Regions from separate parts of the Homo sapiens genome. Here regions 1, 3 and 4 are each linked to region 2. Evidence: promoter capture Hi-C in 16 types of primary human blood cells and fetal thymus (Javierre and others, 2016). All regions are on one chromosome and are shown on one strand. Each heading gives the region's core, a stretch centred on a gene start or on the middle of the fragment in contact. The rest is flanking DNA. Distances are from core to core; before and after follow the strand shown. Region 1 overlaps ST3GAL1 (ST3 beta-galactoside alpha-2,3-sialyltransferase 1). Region 2 holds the start of PHF20L1 (PHD finger protein 20 like 1). Region 3 overlaps ST3GAL1 (ST3 beta-galactoside alpha-2,3-sialyltransferase 1). Region 4 overlaps ST3GAL1 (ST3 beta-galactoside alpha-2,3-sialyltransferase 1).

Region 1 (6,691 bases), core at 1,272-3,771, 680 kb before region 2:
TAGGCTGTGTTCGGGTTTCCACTTATGCTCTGAGAGGTTTGCTGCCACCCCAGGAAGAGGGGCAGGAGGGCAGGCCACACAGCCCCCACTTCCTCCCTGATGTTGGGTTCAGGCAGGGCCCTCACGTGTCCCTTCTTGTCTCATTCAGCCCAGCCCCAGCCCCACCCTGCCTGGTGCCTGGTGGGAATCTCAGAAAGGGTCAGAGGCATTGCAAGGCAGGTCCCCAGGCTCAGCCCCACCCTGGTGTTCCCAGGTAGAAACATGGGTGCCCCTGTCATTTCCCCACCCCACCCACCTCCAGCCAGCTGGTCCCAGACCCTTGCTTGAGGTTCTGCTCAAGAGCCCTTTCTCCCATCGTCCCACCGATTTGGCCCTAACGTTCTTGCCCTGGAGCAGGCCCATGTCCATGTTGCATTTCCTGAGAAAGCCACATGTGGCATGGTGCTGTCCCCGTCCCCTCTTTGTCCCCACCCCTCCAATCTATCTTCCACGCTGCAGCCCAGATAGCACGTCCTCTCCCTGGAAGCCCCTCCATGCAATTCCTTCTGGTCATCTTGTACTCATTTTCCAAGACCCAACTCACATGCCACCTCCTCTGAAGAGCTTCCTCTGACCTCTCAGGGCATAGCTCCTCCCTCCTCTGTGCTGCGGGAGCCCTGAATTTAGCCCCATTTCCAACAAGGACCACTCAGTCAGTGACTCCAAGAAGCTATAAGCTCCAAGGCTGCTTCCCCCTGCAGCTGCCCAGCTGGCATCTGATCAAGCTCTGCCTGAACTTCAGTACAGCCAGCAGGGTGCTGGGCTCAGAATAAATGCACAGGGTTTGTCATGTATGTGAAAGGCCTGGTCTAGTGGCCCTGAGGGCGCCTGGACCAGATGAATGTTGGCCACAGAGAAGAAAGGGATCAGCCCTGCCCTCTGCCTCACTGCAATCATGATTCTTGGACCCATTTTCCAGATGAGGAAAGTGAGGCTCAAAGAAGTGACTTCACATGCCCAGGGCACCACGGAGTGGCAGAGCTGGGATTTGGGGCAGTTTGCTTGGCCCCAAAGCCCTGCTCTCCTTCCACTCTCTTCCATTCCACGCCCTCCTTCCTATTCCTTCCCTCTGTAGCTCCTCAATCCTGGGAGAATAGGTTGCACTTGCTGCAGAGGTAAGACCCGGGCCCCTGAGACCACCCAGATGCAGTAATCTCTCAGGGTGCTTCTGGAATTAGACTTGAGTTTTACTTAACTTGCATTTGCTTCACCAAGACTCTGAGAGTTCCAGGAACGTAGAGAAGGGTTTTTAATGAAGGGTTAGTCAGAGTCCTTGGAAATGCTGTTTATGGTCCTGTGGGATTCCAGGAACGCCTACAGGCTTCCTTTCTCAGAGGTGCCACCAGCAGCCCTGCTGTCTGGTTCTCATCTTTGCTTTGCTCCCACAGGTGGACTTGTACGGCTTCGGGGCAGACAGCAAAGGGAACTGGCACCACTACTGGGAGAACAACCCATCCGCGGGGGCTTTTCGCAAGACGGGGGTGCACGATGCAGACTTTGAGTCTAACGTGACGGCCACCTTGGCCTCCATCAATAAAATCCGGATCTTCAAGGGGAGATGACGCAGTGAAGGGCTGAGGATGGACGCACTGTCACACCTCTGCATTTCCAGCCCCAGCATCTTGCTGGAGCCGTTCCATCCCGGAGCTTGGAGGGGCAGCCTCAGGTGTGTGCCTGGGCACCGCTCACAGCCTCTTGCACCCAGCCGTTGGCAGCATCTACTCAGCAAGGTCACTAAGCTCTGCCAGCGTGGCAGAGCATGTCTTGGAACCTGTCTTGAGTGGGGACAACGTCCCCCCACTGCTGCCCTAGAGCTGGGGAGACGCTGGGAAAGGTTCAACCTCCACACACTAAAATCATTTTGGCTCCTGGGGCAAGCTTGGGGAATGAATGTGGAAGATGCCTATATTCTGAGAGACAGGACAGTTTCCCAGGAAGATGGGCAGAGACTTGAGTGGCGATTACCTCCAGCACAGAGACGTGCCAGGCGGTGTTGGCGCTCGGGGCGAGATGCTGCCCTTCTTTGCACGAAGCCTGGCCTCTTGCTTGGCGTGATAACCCTGTCATCTTCCCAAAGCTCATTTATGAGCCACCAGAGGCTCCTACCCCAAAGATTTTCACAGAAACTTGAGGCCAGGTGCCGTGGCTCACACCTGTAATCTGAACACTTTGGGAGGCCGAGGCGGGAGGATCACTTGAGCCCAGGAGTTCAAGACCAGCCTGGGCAACATAGTGAGACTCCTGTCTCTACAAAAATAAAAGATTTAAAAAAATTAGCCAGGCACGGTGGCACACACTTGTAGCCCCAGCTACTAGGGAGGCTGAGGAGGGAGGATCTCTTGTGCCTAGGAGTTCGAGGCTGCAGTGGGCTGTGATCACACCACTGCACTCCAGCCTGGGCAACAGAGTGAGACCCTGTCTCTGAAAAAAAAAAAAAAAGAAAAGAAAAAAAACCCCAAACTTGGCACCGTGTTTCTGACTCCTGCAGATGCCTCTTCCCAAGCAGTTGTTCCTTTGAGTAGTCAGTCTCATGGTTCTAATCGTGGCGAGAGCGGATCTGACCACTTCCATGTGCCTTTGTATTTGGGAAAGAAAAGCATGCATTGGCTGAAATGAAACAAAAGCCCTTACTTGGGAAAAGGGACCCCCACCAGCGGCCCTGCTTGCTCCGTAGCTGGGAACATCTTTTCTGGTTTCCTGAGCCAGCACCTGAATTGCAACGAAGCTCTGAGGATACTCAACACCACCCAGCAGTGCGTCAGAATGGAACGTACATTCTCATTCTCAGACTGTTCAATATGGTGCCCGTAACCTCCAAAGCCACACAGGAGGCTGCCAGCAGCATTTTCCCCAAGGGCCTGAGCTCAGGGTCAAGTCCCTGCTGGCCATCTTGGGGCTGTCACTGGGGGTCTGGGTCAAGGACATCCCAGGAATGGTAACTGCCACATACCTCATCTTCTTACTCCCCAGCTACTCTCTTTTCCTCATTAGCCTTCCTGATTATTTATTGATTTCTTTTTTTTATTCAACTGACATTGTTTGCACCCTGGCTCTGTTGGTGGTCCTGGTGTTTTAATGAAGCTTGCCTCACCCAGTAGCTGGGAAATTAGGTGGGGGTGCTTAAGGGAGGTTTGTAGGAGTCCTCGGACGTGGGATATTGGGGGTATCTAGGGCTTGGATGGTTTGTGGAATGTCCTCAGCATCCTCCCGTCCCAACCCAACCTTCCTTCTTCCTCATTGTGGACTTGGATTTATTCTCAGGCTAGGAGTCTCCAAAACTCCGTGAAACCTTATTGCTGCTGGGTGTGGAGTGGAGAGTGACAGGAATGTGGGGGACGGTGATTGTTGGCTCCAGTTACTAATGTTTAAGCAGAAAAACCACTTTCTTGTTGAAAATATCCCTGAAAAGGTCGCTGCTGCTTTGAGGAGGCGTGACTTTTTCCTGGTGGAGTGTGACGGAGGCATGGGGCCTGTGCTCCCAGGCTCGGGGGAGCCCCCTCTGCACACGGGGAGGGAGGAACTTGGGGACATCAGTCATGGGTCACAGGTGGCTTCAGGCCATTCACAAGAGTCCCCGGAAGTTGCGTGCCAAGTTTGGTTTTTTCCCTGAATCTCTGCATATGAGCATTTTTCTGGAGAAAGGACCATAGCTTTTATTAGATTCTCAAAGGTTCAGAATGGGGAATGTGTTAAACAAACCGAAAACCTGTTTCAGCTTTAAAATCCTCCAAAACTTTAAAGACTTTTCTTTTTTCTGAGAAAGGCTGGTAAATCACTGAGTCATCATTCAGAACATACAGCCTCGAAGGGCAGAGCTCACACCCATATATGACGTTAAGAGCTCAACAAATGTTTGTTGAGTGACTGAGTGACCCCAGGGGCAGACTCCAGATCATCAGACACTGATACAGAGAGCGATGCTATCTCCTCAACTCTCCCTCTTCTCCTAAAAGCTGAGTCTATATAGGGATGACAGGCTCAGGCTGAGCAGTCGACTTCTCTGGGTTTTGCTGTGTAAGAATAGGTCCCTCAACATGAAGATGTGTCTGCGTCTGAGCCAGATGCTGCCTGGGTCGGTTGCCTGGCCTCCGTCTGGTCTCCCTCCCTCCTACTAGGGTGGTCAAGCTGTGAGATCTCTTCCAGCCTCCAAATCCAGCTTTCCCATTTTACTGATGAGAAAATCAAGGCCACATTGCAGCTGGGTGGGGAGTGGAGCGTGACAGGCACGGGAGAGGACAGCGATTGTTGACTCTAGTTCCTGATGTTTAATCAGAAAAACCACTTTTCCTGTAGAGCACATTTCCTAAAAGGCTGCTGCTGTGTAGGGAGGTGTGGCCTTTTCCTGGTGCAGTGTGAAGGAGGGAAGTGACGGGCAGTCGTGAACTGTCTGGGACAGATAGCACAAGTCAGAGTTTGAGCAAAACTAGGGTGTTACCGGCGCTATGTTGAAATTGTCTGGAGGCGGGCTTTCCCAGCGAGTCTCCATTCAGCATCTGGAAAAAGTGTAACCAGAATGGAGGTGTCTGACTCTCCTGTGCTCTCTCAGCGCCGAGCTCTAGCTGCAGGCTGCCTGGGTGGCCTTCTCACACCCTCCCGTGCAGGAGACTGCATTTCTCTTTCCCACAGCCCAGCAGATAGCTCATTGGCTTAGCAATGGGCACTTAACAGAATCCAGTTGTTGCAGCCAGAATTAAATGCACCAGTCTGGCTTAAACCAACTGGAACTCATCCCTGGGGTGAAGGTGGCTGGGAATTAGACAAGAGTGTGTGTTAGCCAAAAGGCACATGCATGCTGTCAGCAGGAGAATGAGGAGCACTGGTTCTGGGCAGGCAGTGGCAGGGGCTCCCTCAGGCCCCTGATTCCCAGCCCACAGCTCTTTCTACTCTGCAGACAGAGTTCCTTGGAGACTGGCCCTGCATTCAGGCAGGGAGCAGAGGGGTCCCTGCCTGCAGCACCCAGAGCTGAACCTGAAGCTACAAAGATGGGCTGATGAGGTGGCCCATGAGGTGTCAGCAACATCCCAACCCCCTGGGTCTCCCCAGTGAGTCAGGGCACTGATTTGCTATAGCTGGAGCTACATGCACCTCTCCTCCCCTCAGCCACCTTTTAGGGGAGAAAGGAGGGCAGATTTGTAACCTCTGGTTCTCTGCAGGGATCCTGGGCTGGAAGAAAGTTCATAAATGGATGAATGCCTTTTAAAACTCCAGCTTTTCCAAGCATCATTCACCAAAGCATTTGGTTAGGCTTAGAGAGAAAAGCTGGATATGAGAAAATAGAATGTAAAATAGGAGGGAAAAAAAAAAAGAAGGTGGAGAGGGCAGTTAAGATCTGGGTGATTCTTTAGGGAAACGGCTGGTTGAGAGGCTTTGATGGAATCCCATTCTCTGCTGTGGCCAGAAGGTGGTGCTAGAGGCCAGTCCCACTTGGATGTGACCCTGGCCTCTGCCAGGATTCAAACCACAAAGAACATTTGGAACTGGGATGTTTGCTTTGAAGCAGCCCGAAAACAAGTGAAAGGAAACCAAGATAACTCTCTCTCCCTCCGCTGGCAAGGATCAAAAATACCTTGTGCAGGGAAGCCCGAGCCTCGAGGGGCCACTGCCCAGCTAAAGATGACTGGACACCAGCCATGCACCATCAGGAACCAGCACCTGTCCTCACCCCTGAGAAGAGCCCCGGGGGTATCATTATATCCATCGCAGACATCTGGTTTGCAGCAAATGTGGCTACACGCCATCAGGATTATCCTGCCCTGTGGACTGGGCTAGCTAGTTTTGAGATAGAGTCAACCTCCCCATTTTTGTTTGTCATGAAAACACCAGCTCCTGCACCCCTGGGGTGCTACCTGACACCTGTGCAAAGAAAAGGAGGAAAACTTAGAAGAAAAGGCAGAGACAGGCAAGACAGCATCTCACAGCTTGTCAGGATCAGGGCATTACCGACTATTTTTTCTTACCAAAAGAGCACTGAATTTCCTAGGGGAAGGTGAGCCACCTTTACACCTCCTGTCCTCCCTCCCAGCCCGTCAAGCGATCCCATCACCCAGCCTCATCACTCAGCTTCTTCCTAGTACAAAACTGCCATCGGTTGTACGTCCTGAGCTGTGGGACGTCAGCTTTAACCCTAGCCTGTCTCAGGGCCTCGCCCTCCAGCCCCCCGCCCCTTAGGGTGATCGTGGGTTTCTTCCCTTCCTCCTGCACAATCGCTTCCCTTCACTGAATTCCCTTCAAAGCCAAAGTTTCTTGAGCACTTTTTCTTGTGTGCAGTCTTGTGTGTTTGGGTGTTGGTGTTTTTAAATTTGCTTTCTATTCCCCCCTGCCTCTCTCCATGTCGTTACGCAGCTGAGCACTGGTTGGGATGCATTCGAATGACTTCAGCAAGATCCTGCTTTCCTCAGCCCCCGCTCTGTTTTATTTATTGTTTAATATTTCCAATGATCCAAATCAAAGTGAATAAACAAAGAGCTATTTTATTGTTTGGGTGTGTTTGTTGCTTTTCTACAAGGGTCATGCATTTGCGCCTCCTTCAACACTCCAACTCAGAGGGCCTCCTGGGTTGGCGTCGCCACTACCGAATGGCCAGAATTCAGGATACAGAGGAGAGCCCCAGCGTAGGCCTTGGAGAGGCCTCTTCTCAAGCCCAGGAGTCCCA
Region 2 (6,799 bases), core at 2,777-5,276:
CTTGGTCAAATGAGAACCAAGATAGACAAGTGCTGCCTCAACTGGCATTTTCTGTTGCATGGTCTAATGCTGAGTTTCTCAATCATTTTTACCGCCACCCACCCTCATTCCAGTTGTCATTTGGCAATGTCTGGAGACATTTTGATCGTCACTAGGAGAGATGCTACTGCCTAGTTCCCAGGTACTTCCCAAACCCCTCCTAAGAATTACCATGTACATTCTTCACCTAGTGACAGTATCGATTAACCTCCCCATCTCAAATTGTAGCTTCAAACTGTCCTAAAGTGGAGCTCAAAACAAGAGGTCATTAAGCTGGGGTCAGAGATATGTGCCAAGCTCTAACGCCAGATGTTAAAAGAGAGAAACCCCAGCCTGGTCTATACAGTCAAATATTATGACTAAACAAGATTTCTCTGCCTGCCATTGCCAACTCGGGAAGTTGACTTAATACAAATCAATCAAAAGTAAATCTACAAAATGCCCAGTATGGTTTTAAATCAGAGAAAATGTCAAAAAGTCTGGGAAAGTCCAAGAGCTGCTAAACAAGAACTCGCATCAAAATAAACGGGCTTCAGGAGGAGCAAAGGCAGCATCCCTCCCAGAAGCGGAACCCCTCTAATGCCCCTCTCAGGTTAGGAGCCTGCAAATGGCAACAAAAGACATCTGCCAAGACAGCAGAATGAGGGGCCAGTTAACCCAAATGAGGAATACGCTCCTTAGGAGAAAGGAGAATCCTCCTCATTCCTACTCTGGCCCAGGGACCCCTGCATGTAGCTTCCCCTTCTCTCCTTTCCAGATAGTAGTTTTATACCAATTCATCAACTTTTCCTAACCACTGTATAAAGGCTATGTTGGGAGGTGTTTAAATTTACCACTTACCACAATGGCCAGAATAGGGGGAGACACACAAGTTCTGAAAGGACAGCCTATTTTGCACTGGAGACAGTAACAACCTGCCTTTAGGTTAAGGCCCACCAGGGAAAATAGGAGGTTAAGTGTGATTTTGGTTTTAGGTGAGATAATGAATAGTGGAGATGTTTTTGAAAGTGTTCACTATGAAAAAATGCTATGCTAACCATTAATATACTCTGTAGTTTGAAAGACTACCACTGACAGACCAAAAATACCAATTTAAATCAAAATTTATCCAAAACATGAGAAGTTGGTTCTCTGGATTACTCCTCTCTCTACTTCCACCAATACAGCTCATGTGAGGTATACATGAGGTATACATAAACCGCATACTCTAGACAATTATTTTCATTTCTCAAACACCAAAAATGATTGTTCTAAATAATTTAGTCAGTTGACTAAAAATAGTTTTTAAATGCTAAACCTAAAAAGCCTAAAGAGTAGGAAAACTAAAAAACAACATATATGTGTAATCGAAATGTGAATACACTGATGTTTCTGCTACCATCAGTGGAATTTACTGTTTTAATTAACATATGTAAGGCTACAGATATTGTGATATTTAGGTGAAAGTTCTATATTTTCCATACCATTTTTGTAAGTAGTCCAGTGCCTCCAAACGAGCACCAATCTCAAAAGTGATTCCAGGGCGATTTGGGGGCTTTTTACTCATCTTGAGATCCTATTCTTCAGTATTCTCTTTTCACTACCTCAAGAGAAAGAAAAAAGTTAGATTCCAATGCAGAAAATGCATAGGAAGTAGAGTATAAGGGAACAGGTCAAATTAAAATTAAACAGAATTTCTAAAACAATACATGAGAATATGAAATACTTGCCAAATTGTTAAGAAATTTGAAGGAGTATTACCAACATCTCTATATAAAGTTCTGTGCAATCTGCAGGCAATCTTGATAATGATTTAAGAAAAAGAACAAAGAAAACTATCTAAAAAGAATGAGTAAATGGACTGTTAAAAATTGTTAATAGCTAAAAATGCTTTACATTTGAGCTTCCAGATACCCAAGAAAATTCTCCACGGGGAGAGCTGAAAATGCTTTCCTGCCTTTGAAAAATTAAGACAGCTGAGTGTTCTGGAATAGGACTACTGAAATTCTTGAGAACAAAATCAATTTTTAATTTCAACAAATATTTGTTGAGTGCCTCATAATACAAAACACTAGATAAGGCCCTACAGCACACAAAGATGGAGGAAACAGTAGGCACACTCCTCTGCCAGTGAAGATACCACTAATTCCTCTTGGGATTAGGATTTTTCATTACCCATGATCTCCCACCTTGGTAGCACATAATTCAATAATTTTAATTTAACATACAGTATTACAAAAGAGACTGCTTTCTTATACTTTACATTCAACAAGCAATAATAACATGCTTTTGTTAACTGAGTATTTCTACTATATTTCAATTTAGACAGTGTCCACATTGATAATAAAAGTGGTTGTAATGCTAGAACAAAAACTGCAAAGGAGTACCTATGTATCCCTAGGTCATTCACATGCAAAGTACTATATTTTGGGCCACAGTGGCCACCGAGCACACTTGAGGTGGCCTCTTTTTCACTAATGGGTATGTGAGGAATATGAATACATTTTGAGATAACCTAATCAAAACATAACTCATAATTAAGAATGTAAATTGATTGTTATCAGGGGCGAGGAGAGATCCGTAAAATGTCTTTCGGTATTTGAGATCACTAATGACTATGTTCCCTACAGTTTAAAAAGAAAAAAAGAAACACACACACTTGTCATCTTTTATAATGGTTTTGTCACAATTCATAATAGACAAAATAGAACAACAAACATAAAATTCCAACTGCTCCCTCTTTTCTCTTTGAAAGAGTCTGATAGGTAAGGGAAAAAATAGCATCAATACTGGCCATGAAAATATGCGAACTCAAATACCCATGGTTGGAGGGGGAGAGTGGGTATCCTCCTGCTATGGTATAAGCAAATATTAGAGCATTAAAAAGTTAACAGGGAGCTTGCCCAGGGTGTAGCTGGTGCAAAAGAACAAATGTATGAATATTTTTAATAGAGGTCTTGTCAGTGCGCAACACGTAAGGCAGTTACTTAAATGTTTGTGTAGAAATCGAATCAACCTTTTCTGCTGTCTGTCACAGGAAGAATTCAGTAAGGGATAGTTCACAAGGTACACTAACATCTAGAATCAAACTTAGAGCCCATAATTAAGTGATGGATTGAATGAGTATAATCCCCCAGTGACACTTAGGGATGAAGTACCAGAAAAAAAACAAGATTTTCCTTTGTCTTAGGTTCGAAGAGGGAAGGATGAAGAGGGATTTGAATTAAGGAACTTTCATAAAGTAAGACAGTCTACTGGGAGTAAAACTTGAAGCAAAAACAAGGCAGAAAGCACGGAGAGGAGTAAAAACAGTAAGGAAAGGAGCAAAGAATGGCAAGAAATAGGACAGTGGAAGTTTTCGGAGATGACAAGTTAGAGGGAAGAAGAAATGAGCAAGAAGACATAGAGACCGACAATGTAAAGCAATGGTCAGAGAATGACCGCCAGGCCAAAAAAGGTGAGGAGGTGAGGCCAGACAGAGAGGGGGTGGCACGAGACAGGCAGGAAAGGCTGACAGGGCTGGCAGGGAGCTGGAGAAGCCTCCAGGTTTGACAGCCATCCGGCCCTCCGCAGGGGGGTAAGGAAGGGAGGGGAAGAGGGAGCTGCGGCGCCCAGACAATAGGGCCGGCGAGTTACGGGGAGGGAGGCGGGAGGGGAGCGGGCCGGAAAGAGAGACACCAGAATGGGGGCGTCCCGGGCGGCCCGGCGGGGGCCAGGCGGCCTGCCGGCTCAGCCGCCGCCGCCTCTTACCGACTCGGCCTCCTCTCTGCACAGCAGCCGGGCCGTCCGGGGCCGAGCTGGGGCACGAGCAGGGCGGCCAGCCCGGGCCTCTGCCTCTGCCTCCGCCCAGGCAGCGGCCGGGGAGGGAGCAGGAGCGGAGCGAGCTGGGGCCGCAGCGCCGGATCCGCCCAAGGTTTCGCGGGAGGGAGCTGGGTCCGAGCCCTCAAGCTCGCTCAGGGTCCGCTGCCATCGCCGCCGCCGCCGCCGCCTCCGCCGCCGGCCAGCCCTGACGCGACGCCGGGCCCCGGCGACGTCAGCCGCCCGCGACGTGCCGGAAGCGGGCCTGGCCTTGTCACGTGACTCACGAGGGTTGGGCCCGGGCCGCGCAGCCGATTGGCGGGCCGCCGTAGGAGGCGGGGCTTTGCGGTCGTTGACGGACCGCTAGCGGGCGGGGCTCTGGTTACTGGAGGAAAGAACGCGAGCTCTTGGTGCCTATTGGTAGTTGTGAAGTATTTGACCTTTGAGATTTGAGGACGAAGGGCATTGTTTATTATTCTTGATTCGTTGGGAACCACGTCACCAAAACCCCTTTACCCAGGACCCTTGGCAAACTTTTTCAAATGCATTACATGCTTTCTTAGATATCCATCCCACTCCACATCAAGAATAGAGCATGGTTACTACTACAAAATCAATAAACCTCCCTTGAATGGATGCTTTGTGATAGACACTAGGCTGTAAATATGTCACATGACAATCACAACTGTACAACTGTATTACAATTGTATTGCTTTCCAGTCTTGGAGATCTTTACAATACAAAGACGAATATTACTAAGATGTGTGTACGCGCGTGCTCAGGCACAGCTGAATAACCTTAACCTATGGCTACATTGATATCACTTCCCCAAGACTACACAGCTAATGATAGCAGAACTGCTTTTATCGAATACCTACCCTCCCAAACTTTACTAAGCACAGGAGACAGTATCCTTGCTGTGGGGAGAAACCAATAAGTGAACACATTGAAAATAATATTGAAATGAAACATCTTTTTTCTCTTGGTTTCCACTGTACCACTCTGGTTTTCAAGTGCAACGTTGCATACAAATGTCACTTATATTTATCTTGCTTCATAGTGTGGAGTTAAAATAGCAAAGTAACTCTCTTTAAGCTTCAGTTATAGTAAGATTTGGTAAATTAAACAATCATTCTTTTTTTATTCAACAAACATTCATTCAGCATCTACTAAGTCACTAATAGCTACTGAGCTAGACTGAGCATGGTGATACATAGAAAAGATATAAATAAGACAGTCTCTAGTGGATATTTGTTATAGAAAAGATATAAATAAGACAGTCTCTAGTGGATATTTGTTATCTTGTTTTTTGGTTGCCCAGCATCTCAACTCTCTTTCCATGTTTGAGAAATTTCTCATCATGGTTGCATTAGTTCAGAACACCAAATACTTGTAGCATCTTCCTTAGGACATGACAGGATTATACTTTCCACCCTCCTTAGAATTATGTATGGCTATTTGATTTGCTTTGGCTGATAAAATGTAATTAGAAGTGAGATTTGTCATGGCCAGTTGGTAATTTTTAATGCCAGCTCACCAAAGTTTCTGTCTCTGGCACAGTGTAAAGCACTGCTTGAGATGATAGCTGCTCTACCATCCAGGTTCTAGACAGATTATGATGAACCAAGGCCTCACTGATAATCTACAACTACTGTGTTGTATAAGGAAAAAAATAAATATTTATTATTTTAACTATGGAGATTTGGGTGCTGGATTGTTTGTTACATGGCATAATCCTACCCAAACTAAATGATACATCCACCTTATGAATCTTGGATGCAGAATCAACCTCCCACTAAATAAGATGAAAATATCAGAAACTCATGTTTCCAGTCTCCCTTGCAGCTAAAGTTCTAGCCTCAAGTAAAACTCTTTTACCAAGGACTTTGTATCAGAAGTTGCTAATGATGTTCAAAATAAGGAAACTTTTCTCCCACATCTGTGGCAGTACCAGTATTCAAGTTTCTGATGGTCAGCCTGGAGTTAAATCTTTCTGAACTCTGGCAGAACCCCTGCTGAATCACAAGCTAGTGACTGAGAAAAAATAAATATCTATTATTATACACCACTAAAAACTTGAGGTTATTTGCAATTTAAATAAAATACATACATAAAGAACAACAGATTCTGTCCATTCTCCCAACTATTTGTTGAGAATCCACCCTGGAAAGATGATTGTTCCATTTTAATTGGAACTTGACAATGGGTCTTCCAATAATGACACTTGAAAGAAAAAAATAAAATAAGGTCTTATGTAAATGATCCCTAGCTTCAGTGAATTGTATAGGCTTAGTAATCCTCTGTGGAGTTAATACCGTCCCCTAGAGGGCACTTTGGAAATGGAGGATGGTATTTTATTGTCTCAGGATTGGGGTAGGGCACTGCTACTATTTAGTGGGAAGGGACCAGGGCTGCTAGATATCCTGAAATGCACAGTGCAGTTCCATACCTTGAAGAATTGCCCCAGGTCATGCATGACTTCTAGATGTCCTTCCAGACATTCATGTAGGTGAAAAACCTGTTTATAATTGTCCCTGCCTAGAACTGCATTTCACATATAAGTATTTTTGGAAGGTTTTAATATACATTAAATTTTACAGGAATGAAGCAACTGTGTAATGTAAGGAAACACTGACCTTTTTTCTGAACATTATCAAGAGTCTATCTCATTTTAAAATATCATGCCACCAACGGCTAATTACTCATAGTATTTGAGGCACTGATAGAATGCACCTGTGTCAGTCTAGTTGCGTAGCTGTTACATTTAGGGAAATCTAAATTTAGATACAAGCACCTCACTACTTCATTATATATTTCTGTGATACATGGATGAATGTTAAGTATTGAAATATATATGATTTTTATGAATTATTTTCATAAATTTTTTATATTATCATAGTCATATTGATTTTTAAGTATATATGTATAGCTTGGTTATGTTATTTATGAAGTTAATTTTGGGAAGTGGAGAGGGTGTGAATAT
Region 3 (6,538 bases), core at 685-3,184, 740 kb before region 2:
GTAGCTTTTGGGTTTTAGAGTCCTTGCAGTCCTTGCTTGTCACTATGTTTACCTGACCAGCCTCCAAGCCTAGGGAGTCCTCCTGGGTGGGGCTGTGTTTGCTGCATTTTTGTATTCCCAGCTTCCAGCAGTGCTGGGCAAACCTGAAGTCCTTGACTAATTGGTATGTGTCAGTCTCGCTGGATAAGATTTAAGCATCAAATGAAGGGTTGCTCTAGATGCCCTTTTAAAAGTCTTTTCCAACCCTGAAATTCTCTGATCAGGAAATTATCAAGGAAAAAGTTCTCCTTGCAGGATCTTTTCTAAGATTTCTAAATGGGGACTTTATTACACGGGGCAGGTAATTACAGGAGGCTGCAGCTGCAGCAGAGAGCTTCACATGGCTGGTGGCTGATTGGTGCATTTTGGAGGCTGTCATCTTTGTTCTGACTGGGGGATTGGAATCCTGGCAGAGGCAGGGCCTCTCCCTTAGCAGTACAGTGGAAGGCAGCCCTGCAGGACCCACCCTCAAGCTGGTCAGCCCTCCACTGACTGCCCCAGGGGATGGCAGGCAGCATCTGTTGGCATGTGAATATCAGACAAGTCATGGACAGTAGGAGCAGAGGTGACCGTTGGAACACTCAGCCCAGGAGTCAGTTTCATATATCCCCAGGGGCCACGTGGGTAACACAAATGGGTTGAAACATCTGGGCAAGACAGTAGAGAGCAGTGGGGTCTGCAGTGAATTGTAAAACTGACTAGGTGCCAACCAAAGGAGATGGCTGCCACTCAGCTCTGTGAGATCGTCCTATGGATAATGTGAGCTCAGGGTTCCTGGATCTTCCCCACCTTTTTCAAAGGTAGCCAGAACTCTAGATTTTTATGTAAAACTTTCTGATTATTGTTGCACCTAATTCAAAGTTTTGTTGTGCTCTACAGTGCAGACAAAACATGCCTGTGGGGCAATTGTTTTCATACCTCTGATTTAGCCCAGTATTTGACAGGTTGGGAAACTGAGGCTCAGCAGTTAAGGACTTTCCAGAAGTCCCCAGGGAGTTAGTGACCATGATGGACACAAAGTGCCCAAGTCTGGGCCGGGCGCGTTGGCTCATGCCTGTAATCCCAGCACTTGGGAAGGCCAAAGCAGGCAGATCACTTGAGGTCAGGAGTTCAAGACCAGCCTGACCAATATGGTGAAACCCTGTCTTTACTAAAAATACAAAATTAGCCAAAGTGGGTTGGCACGCGCCTGTAGTCCCAGCTACTTGGGAGGCTGAGGCAGGAGAATCGCTTGAACCCGGGAGGCAGAGGTTGCAGTGAACTGAGATTGCACCACTGCACTCCAGCCTGGGTGAGAGAGTGAGACTCTGTCTCAAAAAAAATAATAAAATAAAAAAATAAAAAAGTGCAAGACTGGGTGAGTTATCCACCAGTTTGGTGGGCTCTTCCCCAGCACCTTTATTCAAGGCAGGGACTAAAGCTTAGAGGAGTAAAGGGACAGGGACTTGCTCAAGGTCACATAGCTTGGAACAGCAGAATCCAGAGAAGGACTGGGGCTTGCTGGCCCTCATCCATGGGACTGTCCAGCCACTGTGTTACTGAAAACGTCCCCATAATGGTTTCAATAAAGTCCTAACCAGGAACTTGGCACAGGGCAAATTCTAGCCTGCTGCCAATCAGCAGGAAAACAGCTCTTATGCCAGTGGGCAGGAAGCTGCCAAGGTGTCACTTCTGCTCAGAGAAAGTGGTTTGTGTATTTGCTGAACTAATATGTTCACCCTGAAGGTACAGAGATCAACTCTATCTCTTTCTGGAGGGTCCCTCCAGCTGGATGCCTGGAGTCTGATTTGACGACATTCCTTTTGCCCTTGACCTGGTGTTCTTAGAGAGCCTGCCTATCAAATCTCATAATCAGTGAGGGATGTTGATTCTTCTTTGTGATCGGGCACATGACTTAGGAAACAAACCTGGGCTTAGAGTTATGAGGGTTGTAAGCAGTTCCAGCTTGCAGTGTTTTAGCTGTGACATTGGGCTGGCCACTTTTATAATTGCTGCCCTGCCAGCCTCACAGAGCTATTGTGAGACTCTGGTTGAATGGATGGATCTAAATTGCCAAGAAAACAGCTAAAGAAATGTAAACTGGTTTTGGCCTTATATTCCTCCTCCTTGAAGGATGACATTTGAGCTGGGACAGGAATGATAGGAGGGAGCCAGAAAATTCAGCAAGTGCAAAGGCCCAGGGGCAGGAATGAGCTTGATTCCCCAAGAATGGATGGGGAGTGTATTAGTCTGTTCTCTGCATTGCTGTAAAGGAATGCATGAGGGTGAGTAATTTATAAAGAAGTGAAGTTTATTTGGCTCACAATTCTGCAGGCTGTACAAAAAGCATAGCACTGGCATCTGCTTTTTGTGAGGACCTCAGGAAGCTTCAAGTTGTGGCAGAAGAAGAAGGGGAGCTGGCATGCCCCATGGAGGGAGAGGGAACAAGAGAGAGGGGAGAGTGCTCATAATAAATATTGATAAAATTATACCTTCTAGGCATAGCAGGGAGGATCAGTAGACTTACCCCCATTAAAGGCATAATAAGGACCAGTGCAATGGCTCATGCCTATAATCCCAGCACTTTGGGAGGCCGAGGTGGGTGGATCACCTGAGGTCAGGAGTTCAAGACCAGCCTGGTGGGTTTAGTAGAAACTCTGTCTCTATTAAAAGTACAAAAATTAGCCAGGCATGGTGATAGGCACCTGTAGTCCCAGCTACCTGGGAGGCTGAGGCAAGAGAATCACTTAAACCTGGAGGTGGAGGTTGCAGTGAGCCGAGATCGCACCACTGCACTGCACTCCAGCCTGGGTGACAGAGCAAGACACCGTCCCCTCCTACCAAAAAAATAGACATAATAAAAGCTAACATAATATTTATATAAATAGAGGGCATTTGGTAATTATGATTTATCACAATCTACTGAGTTGAAATCATTTGTTTTGGTTTAACTGAGTACCAATTCATTCTAACCTCTTTTGGGCTTACTCATAGGCTAGGCCTAGGATTAAAATAATAATTAGTATGAGAGCTGTGCTAATTATTAATTTTAGGTTGCTTGTCTGGAAAACTCATGGTAAGGGTAATAGTAAGAAGATTTCTCCATCAAAGAGGAGAAATGTCATGACTTCTAGAAAAAACTTTATGGAAAAGGGGAGGTGGCCAGAGCCTACTGGGTCAAAACCTCATTCGTAGGGGCTCTTTTAAACAATGAGAACCCTTGAGAACTAGTAGAGTGAGCACTCACTCATTACCCGGAGGACAACATCAAGCCGTTCATGAGAGATTTGCTCCCCATGACCCAGATGCCTCCCACAGGGCCCCACTTCCAACACTGGGGATCACATTTTAAGGTGAGATTTGGAGGGGACAAATATCCAGACTATATCAGGAGCTGACATGACTGAAACAGAGTAAGGGAGAAAGCAGTAGGACAAAGCAGAAGGGGGCTGAAGTCTTGCCAGGAGCAGGGTGTGGGCCCAGGAGGCCTGCTGCCTGGCGTGGCATGGGAGCGAGCTCTCTTGCAAGATGGCAGTGAGGACCTCGTCCTCGGAGGCAGGCCTTTCCACTAAGGCCAGGACCATGATGGGAGAGCAGAGAGGTCCAGAAAATGAAGAAGCTGGCAGAGGGTGGGGGAGTTGGATCACCCCAAAGACATCATCAGGAAGGGAGGGGCAGGTCATCTGGGCTGTGAAATATGAGTAGGGTTTGTCTGGGCAGCAAGAGGGAGATGGACTTCCCAGAGGGCTTGGCATCTGCTGGGGGAGCGGGGGGCCATCGGAGGACGGCACATGGCAATGTGTGGTGTTGCTTCCCTCCTGCCTTGGAAGCTGTGAGTACCCCCACAGGATTGAATTGAAGGCCTAGAACCCTGGATGGGAAAAACCAGGAACCCAGGAGATCTCGAGGGTCTTAGCGGGCAGACCCATGTGATGTCTGAACCCTGACCCTCCCCACCTAGTGCCCCAGGATTGCAGAACACCTCCTTCCTTGTAGCCTTGCTCATTTGCTCAGAAGTCAAGGCCCAGGATGGAATCTCATTGCCTGAGAATGCAGGAGTACGAGGAGCTTCTAGGGAGCCCTTGCTTCTGTCGTGGGAGGGCAGCCTGTGCATTTACCATCCCACTAGGAGAGCATGCGGTGGAGGAGAGGTGCTCCCCAGGAAAGGACTGGCGGCTGTAAGATGGGAGCACAGGATCCTTTGGGAGCAGGGCAACCCCAGCCCACCCTCACCCTCTTGATTCCTGCCTGTTCCATTCTCTTCCATGGCATGGAAGGAGCCCTCACCCCAGGCTCCTTGCTGGAGATATGACGGGGAGCAAATAGCTGTGACACTGGTCCATTCTGAGCTCCTGCAGTGATCCTAAAGCCAAAATGAATAGTACCCAATGCCTGTGGCCAGGGAGCTTGCTGTACTGGGTGGGAAATGGTCCTATGAAGAATGAACTAGGGATGGGTCATTGGTGTTAATCTTAGATCCCCATGAGTAAGAAAGGACATACCTTTGTTGTCTGTGTCACTTTGATTATTAGTGAAGTAAAACTACTCTTTGTAGCCTATTGGTTGTGTGCATTTCTTCAATATTGATTTGCCTTTTATCTACTATTTTAAAAAATTTGTGTTGTGTGCATTTGTGATGATCGTTTTTGCAAGAGCTCTTTGTGTTTATTATGGATATTAGCCAGGTGCCCGACATGGGCTGAAAATACGCTTCCTGGTTTGCCATTTAGTTTGCACTGTCATTCAGGGCATTTAGTCTCTTAGCACAGGGATCAAAATTTTTTCTTTTCTTTTTTTTTTTTTCCAGACAGAGTCTTGCTCTGTTACCCAGGCTGGAGTGCAATGGCGTAATCTCAGCTCACTGCAACCTCCACCTCCTGGGTTCAAGCAATTCTCCTCCCTCAGCCCCCCAAGTAGCTGGGATTATAGGCGCAAGTCACCACGCCTGGCTATTTTTATTTTTGTATTTTTAGTAGAGATGGGGTTTCACCATGTTGGCTAGACTGGTCTTGAACTCCTGACCTTGTGATCCGCCCGCCTCAGCCTCCCAAAGTATTGGGATTACAGGTGTGAGCCATTACGCCCAGCCAAAACCTTTTTCTAGAAAGAATCAGATAATAAATATTTTAGGCTTTGAGAGCCGTGCCATCTCAGTACCATCTGTTTGTGCCATTGGAGCACGAAAGTAGCCGTGGACACTGTGTACACAGACGTTCACATTTCTTATGTGTTCAGTCTTTTCTTCTATATAAATATGGGAGGCCTTCCGTACTCCAAAATTAAATGAAAGAAAAACAAAAAACTAGAGAAGAGGAAAAGTCCTGAAAAGTGATGTAAGTGTAATGCCCCAGCAGTGATGAGTGCTCACAGAAGATGTACTGGAATCTCCTTGGATCTCGGTAGGTCTTTAGTTCTCAGGAGAAGAGGCGAGAGTGGGCGCTGCTGCAGACAGGGGCAAAGTCACGAGTGAAGGCCGAGGCATCTGGGCCTGGGGGAGCTCTTCAGCAGGGCTGGGGTGGGGGTAGCACTCCAGAGGGGTGTCCCCTCATCCTGTGCCTCTCCTCTGATCTTTATTCTTTCCACTGACATTGATGACCGTGTTCTCTGAGGACACTGGGCCCATTGTGTCTTGAGAGACATGTTCAGCCAACCACCTGGTCTTCGTCAGTCCCAGTGAGACCCCAGGTGAGACCCTCCAGCTTCCTTCTATGGAAGCCATCAGGCCCCTTCCTCCCCTCTAATCCGGACCCTCCCAGAGACTGGATTGTCAGGTTTGATCTTAAGGAATCACATGTGAATTTTACTCTTAGCTCCTCTACCCTTTTCTTTTAATGTTGTTTCAAAGATGTTCTTAAACCCAGTGCTGTATTCAAGATATAACTTTCCTATCCTATAACTTTGAATGATAAACTAAAAAACCCAGCTGGTTTTGCAAAGGGTTTTCTGAGTGTGAGAGGGTCAGATGGGTGTTCTCCCTGTCTCCTCCCGACCCTCAGTTTGGTTGGTCTCATGACGTACTGGAGAAACAGGCTCGGGCCTGGACCAACCCTGTGCGGACTCAGACTCACAGCTGGCCATAGGACCTGGGACAGGCCCTTCACCTTTCAATGGCCTCCGAGATGATGGTATGTGTGATGCTTAATATTGACTGTCAACTCGTTTGATTGAATGATAAAAGGTATTGTTCTTGGGTGTCTTTGAGAGTGTTACTAAAGGAGATTAACCTTTGAGTCAGTGGACTGGGAGAGGCAGACCCACCCTCAATCTGAATGGGCACCATCTAATCAGCTGCCAGCATGGCTAGGATAAAAGCAGGCAGAGGAACGTGGAAGGACTAGACTGGTAGACTGGCTGAGTCTTCCGGCCTCCATCTTTCTCCTGTGCTGGATGCTTCCTGCCCTCGAACATCGGACTCCAAGTTCTTCAGCTTTTGGACTCTTGGACTTACACCAGTGATTTGCCAGGGGCTCTTGGGCCTTTGACCACAGACTGAAGGCTGTGCTGTTGGCTTCCATCCTTT
Region 4 (6,414 bases), core at 3,566-6,065, 700 kb before region 2:
AAGTTGGGAGAAACCCAATATTCCCTGCTCATTTTCTGCACGAGGTATGTGCTGATTTTTGCAGAGGGTTCAGAGGACGAGCAGAGAGCAGCAGTTCAGAGTGTTTGGCAGTCTCGCAAGGTGGGGAAACAAAACAGAGATAGGTAGGTAGGTAGAGGGAGTCAGTGAGTTCAGGACTGCTAGGTCAACCAAAACCCAAGGAACCAAGAACCTAGAGCAAAAACAACCACAAAGAAAAGAACATGTGCTCTGTGCCTTCTAAAATTTTCCTTTCAAGGCATTTGCCAGCACTTAAGTTTCATGGGTCCAGAGTCTAAGAAACCAAGCAGAAAACAGCAGATGAAAAGCTAAAAAGACTGGGCATGGTGGCTCATGCCTATAATCCCAGCACTTTGGGAGGCCGAGGTGGGTGGATCGCCTGAGGTCGAGAGTTCGAGACCAGCCTGACCAACATGGAGAAACCTCGTCTCTACTAAAAATACAAAAATTAGCCAGGCATGGTGGCATGTGCCCATAGTCCCAGCTACTTAGGAGGCTGAGGCAGGAGAATCACTTGAACCCAGGAGGTGGAGGTAATAGTGAGCCAAGATCAGGCCACTGCACTCCAGCCTGGGCGACAGAGTAAGACTCTATCTCAAAACCAAAAACACAACAACAACAATGACAACAACAAAAAAACCCAAACAAACAAAAAAGAAAGGCTAAAAAGTTAAGCTTACGGTGATCTCATAGTACAGGGGAGACAGAAATTGGAGATAGGAGCCTGTAAGGAAGAGTCACCCTGATAAGCATCTTGGTTTACCTGTTGAGAACGGCTATGCCCCAGGGGTAAGAGTAAACCAGAAATAGACCAGTCTTCATGAAAAGTGAAACACAGCTGCAGTTAGAACAAAGTAATGTGCCACTTCTGTACCTGCTCATCAGGAGACAACCGGTCCTCTCTGAAGGAGGACAGCCTCATCCAGAGCCTCTGCATTTTTGTCATACACAATACAAACAGCAACCAGGCCTGCCAAGGACAGAACCAAATAACCAAAGAAAGAAAGAGCAACCGAGAAAATAGACAATAGAAATACACCCACATTATCCAAGTATCACAGGATATCCAATGTGGGCTTTAAGACGGCTGTGGTGAATAAAATTGCACAAAGATAGATGACAAGGTGGAGAAATTCACCAGCAAAGTAGAACCTGTCAAAAAATTAGGTAGAAATTCCAGAACTAAAAGACACCACTGAAATGAAGAACTGAATTCATAATTCAAATAGAGTAGGCACAGCAAGAAGGGGGAGTAAACAAGGCTGGAAAGATGACAGTAAACCAAGTCCAAAGAAGTTATCAGAAAGGGAATGGGGAAGATAGGGAAGATAAGAGCAGGTATTGATGGAATTGAATGATGAGCCACGGCTACACAGAAAGCCACAGGAGAAGGCAGGAGTCTGCCTTTGCTACCATTTTGCTGTGTGACCTTGGATAAGTCACTTGCCTTCTCTGGGTTTTAGTTTTTCATTTCAGGGAGACAAGCGTAAGGGTTACCCACCTCTCCTGGTGGCTTGGGGATCACATGAGGAAAGTTGTGGCCACTCTGTATTGAAAGCGTCAATTTTGCCAACAGCCTGCACAGTTCGCTCAGGCATTTCTCTAGTGACCATAGTGCCAGGGGCTGTGTGAAGGGCTGGGAGGGCATCCCAGCCTGTGATGGGTATTTACTACCATCCCGTTCAGTGGGTATTTACTACAGGTTCAAAACCCCGTGTGGTTCCTTCATTTGTGTTTCCAGGAGTTTCACACAGTTCTCTCAGTCTCTGGTCATTGCCCCTCAACTCCCTATTGCCAGAGGAGTTTATCTTCATTAGGGACTCTCCTTAGGGAAATTCTTACTTTTCAGTCCCCAAAAGTGTGCTGACATTTGTCAGTCTTGTGCTGGTGACCCCGCTAAGCTCTGTTGTGTGCAGGTGCTTCATGCCTCCTCGTATTGAGCATGTGGCTGGGAAATGACTGCCATTTGGCAGAGGACAGGGAGCCAGCTTCCCTCCTTCCCCATCCTTCCCTGCTCCCTCTCTTCTTTCTCCTTGTTCTGGGGGGCCCGGCCTCCCTCACCGCACACTTGACATGCAGAGATCTTTGGTCTGTGGCGTCTTGGCCCAGATGTCATTTCCGGGAGCCAGGGCTGGCATTCCCCCATGCCTGCAGGCTGCCCCACGCTTGCTAGAGCACGGAGAAGACATGCAGTCCTGGTTTCTTCCCTGCAGCCAGGGAAGGGGTATAGCGGTGTTCTTGCTTTTCCATTGCAGTTTTATCCAGGGCTTTGGAAAGCGCTAAATGATACCAGCTCAGAAGCCTCTGATGGTTATGGGGAGTGCCCTGGCCTTGGAGGTGTGGCTGCAGGATGCCCCAGAGGAGAGGAGGCTGTCACAGTCCCACAACCTGTGCAGCACAACCTTGCCCTCTGCCCTGCCTCTCACGCCATCCCTAGCAGCAGCCTAGAGCATTAATATCTCTCACGCAGAGGCAGGACATTGTAGGAAACCTGACCTCTCATCCAGAGCCTTGTTTGATCAACACGGATCAACAGTCATCTGTTTCAGGGAACTCATCTCTGCCCTGGCATTAGGGGTGCAGAGGCACTAAGGGCAAGGGTGTCCTAGGCCCTGCTCATTATAAAGGCAAATGTAGTAAGACCATGGCATTCCTCTGCTCAGCCCCACCAGCAGGTTTCTATGTCACCCAGAGAAAACTTAGTCTTGACTGTGGCTTCTCTGGCCCAACACACTCTCACCCCAGCTGCATGCTCAGATTCCCCCTCACCCCCCACCCACTCCTCTCCTCCACACTGTGTCTGATCCAGCCATACAGGCCTCCTTTGCTCCACAGGGTCTGGGGCCCTATTGATGCCTGGGAGGCGCCTACCTTAGATCCTTTTACGATGCACCCCAGCCACCTTGTCCAGGGCCTGGAGAACGCAAGGACCAGCAAATATGCAGTCAATGAATGAGATGAATGGACAACCTTGATGGGCTGACGGCCCCGAGAAATGAGCAGAATTTGTGTTATCAATCCGTTTTTCCCATTGAAGGGATGGTTCGGAAGGGCTAGGTGACTTGTTCATGGTCACGCAGTGAGTAGTGTGGGACAGGCTGCTGAGAATGGAAATGTGACTCAGAGTCTGTGCTTTCTTTCTCAGTTCTCCCTCTGGACTGTTGGCCGTTTTGTTTCCCTTCATTCATTTCTGGGTTTCTTCATGACCCAAGCCTCCACTGAGCATTGAGTGTGTGCACGGGTGACAGGGTCACTGCCATAGTGAGGCTGAGTTTCCATCCTCACATTGCTCCCAGTCCAGGGAGGAGACATATGTGTGAAGAGCACAGACAGAGTGCAGCCAGGACCCTAGGGAGCCAGGAGAGGCCCCTAACTCACCCCAGGAGAGGGCAGGGCTTCCTCCAGGAGTCAGCACCAGCTGAGCCCTAGAGAATGAGTAAGAGCCATCGGCAAAGCAGGGTGGGGTGGTTTTCTGGACAGTGGGGACAGCCTGAGCAGGGACACGGAGGTAGGAGCAACTGTGACCTCTGGGTCAGTCACATTGCTTCAAGTTACAAATAACCTACTTTACCCCATAAAGGGGATTTATTCCCTCATGTAACTGAAAAGTCAAGGTGAGGGTGGGGCTGCAGGTTGAGCAGGATCAGGGATTTAGCACCATTTGTTCGGGTTGTTCAGCTCTAGTCTCTTCTACACACGCTAGCAAAATAGCCAGCAGGATGTTCCACATGTCAACAACAAGCCAGCCAGAGCAAAAGAAAGTTTCTTCCCTCCCTACAGAAGCTTGGCTGGATGAATTAAGGCACATGCCCATCCCTGGATCAATTACTGGGGTAAGAGGTGGGAACCCTCTGCCAGTCAAGTGAATTGTGAGCCTATCTGTGATGATGCAGAAGTTATTCTTACTTAAATTACAGAGCTGCTCCTTGATGGGGGCAGGTGGGGAGAGAATTGGATGGGATACCTGTGGACACCACTAGGTTATAAACAAAATCTAGGTTGTCATGAAAAGTGAAAACTGGAGCAGAGACCGGATAAAAATGACGTTGCCAACTGAGCTGCAGAGCTCAGACCTTGTCCTCCATACGTTGGGCTTCTAGTTCTGGAAGCTGTAGAGGGTTGCACCCTATGCATCTTGGGCCCTGGATGTCTTCAGAAGGGCACTGTGGATTTAATATGGTTTTGGAGCTGTCCCCCTTTCTACCAAAAGGTGATCAATCTCCTTTCAACTCTAATTTTCCTGGAAAAAAATATACCCTGCTTATTGACAATCTACACCTTGAGAATGGGGAGGAATCGATCAGATTTCTTCCATTCTTCAGCATTCCAAGCAAAGACCAAAAAGACCACGCTCCAGGGCAGACGTGCAACCACAGTTGTACCATACAGAAATCCCAAGGTGTCGGTGAGAGCCAGAGGGGTCTCCGATGGGCATTTGAGAGGTACCTGTTTGCCTTCTTCAAAAGAATACTCCCCCCTTGCTCTATATCCCTCCAGCCGTAGTAATCTGAAGACCAGTTAACAAGACAGGTGTCTGCTCCAGGGTAGAGCCCCCCAACCCCCTGTTCCTGGTCCCCCAACCCCTCCCGATGTAAGGAATCAGAGGACTGTGGATTTGGACTCGGATCCTGCTCCTTCCTTTCCTTAGGCAAGTCATCTAAGCACTTTGAGTCTCAGTTTCTTCCAAGACAAAAAGGGAAACTAATATCTAGCTGACAGTATATTCTGAGGATTATCTGAAGAGATACGTATGCATGAATATCTCATCCTCTCAGCTCTTAGTGGATCATCAGAGAATATTGATTCATTCACATGTTGAAGAAGAAAAATTAAAGTTCAGCAATGGCCTAATAGATACCAGAAGCCCAGCATACATCATTTTATCTTATCTTCATAACCATTCTATAAGTAGGGGTGTTAGTATCCCACTTTGCAGAAGAAGAAACTGAGGGTCAGGAAGGTCAAATAACTTTCCCAAGGCTCCACAGCTGGGAAATCAGAACTTGAACCTGGACCATCTAAAGCCCCTTTTTATGGAACTGAGGCCAATTGGCAGAGCTTGAATGCCCAGGTAAAAGGAACCCTGGGCCACTCTCTAAGCATACCATTGTTGTTGTGCTTGTTGCTGAAATCCAAAATCTGGAAGAGAATGAAGTAGAGAGAAAGGCAAATAACATGCATTTAACAATTCCTGTGTATATTGTACCTACATGCATCACGAGCTCTTTGACAAATGTTTGTTGAGTGTGTCAATGTGCTAGGTTCTTGTTGGAAACATGGAGGGGACACCTTCTGCATCCCATAATAACCTTGCAAAGAGATGATAACATCCATTGTATGCACGCACTCAGGCTCACAAAGGTAGATAAACCATCCAGAGCCACCTGCCAGGTTGGCATGACACCAGAAGGAAGACCACGGAATACGTCCTGGTGGAGATGTGGAGAGAAACATTTTTTATAGCAGGATCACAGAATCTCACGCTGTTTTCTTCCTCCTTTTCTTTGCAGATGACAGACAACCTTCTGTGCCTTCATCAAGCTGGTTGTGTACCCACCATGTCCCTGGCGACAGGATGGGAAAGAAAAAGCCCTAATTAAGGATCGTCAGAAACCACAGTTGGAGGAGGACGGCAGAGACAGTTTCCCTCCCCGCTATACCAACACCCTTCCTTCGAGGTCCTCGCTCCTGAGGGACCCTGGACTGTCACAGAGATTAATGACCCCTTATCTTCTTTGGATGTGAAAGGAAATCACTGGTTAAAGCTTGATCGAGAGACATTATCAGCTCTTTAAGGATTGCAGAAGAATAGGCTACTTTATTTTCTGAAAAGGTAAATATATGCAAGCAAAGCCAACATGCCACGAATGGCGTTGGTCTACCACACAGCCGTGTCTGGGACACAGTTGGGGGTCATCCCCCAGCAGGAGTGAAGTCGAGCTTAGCGGCCCTTGTGTCCTCCCTTGGAATTCCTGCCATCCCTTTTGATTGAGCCTCCACCTCTGGGATTTTTCTTCCATTTTTCTCCTCTCTTAGGAGGGAGTTCCTGCTACCCATCGTGGGAGGCCACCATCAGGACTGCGAAGATGGTGACCCTGCGGAAGAGGACCCTGAAAGTGCTCACCTTCCTCGTGCTCTTCATCTTCCTCACCTCCTTCTTCCTGAACTACTCCCACACCATGGTGGCCACCACCTGGTTCCCCAAGCAGATGGTCCTGGAGCTCTCCGAGAACCTGAAGAGACTGATCAAGCACAGGCCTTGCACCTGCACCCACTGCATCGGGCAGCGCAAGCTCTCGGCCTGGTTCGATGAGAGGTTCAACCAGACCATGCAGCCGCTGCTGACCGCCCAGAACGCGCTCTTGGAGGACGACA

Evidence for each region. Contacts are between HindIII fragments. The CHiCAGO score rates a contact against its expected background, and 5 or more counts as called.
Region 1: a fragment that was not itself captured here is called in contact with the fragment with the promoter of PHF20L1 in region 2 in 4 of 17 cell types (fetal thymus, total CD4 T cells, naive CD4 T cells and 1 more); the score reaches 6.8 in fetal thymus.
Region 3: a fragment that was not itself captured here is called in contact with the fragment with the promoter of PHF20L1 in region 2 in 1 of 17 cell types (activated CD4 T cells); the score reaches 6.6 in activated CD4 T cells.
Region 4: a fragment that was not itself captured here is called in contact with the fragment with the promoter of PHF20L1 in region 2 in 5 of 17 cell types (activated CD4 T cells, total CD4 T cells, fetal thymus and 2 more); the score reaches 7.3 in activated CD4 T cells.

Annotation. Positions count from the first base shown.
Region 1 is chr8:133,454,674-133,461,364 of GRCh38, reverse strand. It overlaps ST3GAL1 (ST3 beta-galactoside alpha-2,3-sialyltransferase 1), which reads left to right. Exons shown (of 10, transcript NM_173344.3): 10 at 1,428-6,517. The coding sequence ends at 1,601. Among named protein-coding and RNA genes, the nearest start is that of ST3GAL1-DT, 110 kb to the left of the region's middle. The HindIII fragment of the contact is 1,203 bases long and covers 1,920-3,122 here.
Region 2 is chr8:132,772,615-132,779,413 of GRCh38, reverse strand. PHF20L1 (PHD finger protein 20 like 1) reads right to left here and starts at 4,026. Exons shown (of 21, transcript NM_016018.5): 1 at 3,769-4,026; 2 at 1,503-1,622. The coding sequence starts at 1,585. It also overlaps a transcript of TMEM71 not described here. RefSeq lists a silencer at 3,592-4,041 and an enhancer at 3,796-4,297. The HindIII fragment of the contact is 4,916 bases long and covers 1-4,913 here.
Region 3 is chr8:133,512,183-133,518,720 of GRCh38, reverse strand. All of the region lies in intron 2 of ST3GAL1 (ST3 beta-galactoside alpha-2,3-sialyltransferase 1), which reads left to right. Among named protein-coding and RNA genes, the nearest start is that of ST3GAL1-DT, 55 kb to the left of the region's middle. The HindIII fragment of the contact is 946 bases long and covers 1,462-2,407 here.
Region 4 is chr8:133,475,736-133,482,149 of GRCh38, reverse strand. It overlaps ST3GAL1 (ST3 beta-galactoside alpha-2,3-sialyltransferase 1), which reads left to right. Exons shown (of 10, transcript NM_173344.3): 4 at 5,550-5,872; 5 at 6,076-6,414. The coding sequence starts at 6,126. Among named protein-coding and RNA genes, the nearest start is that of ST3GAL1-DT, 92 kb to the left of the region's middle. The HindIII fragment of the contact is 1,982 bases long and covers 3,825-5,806 here.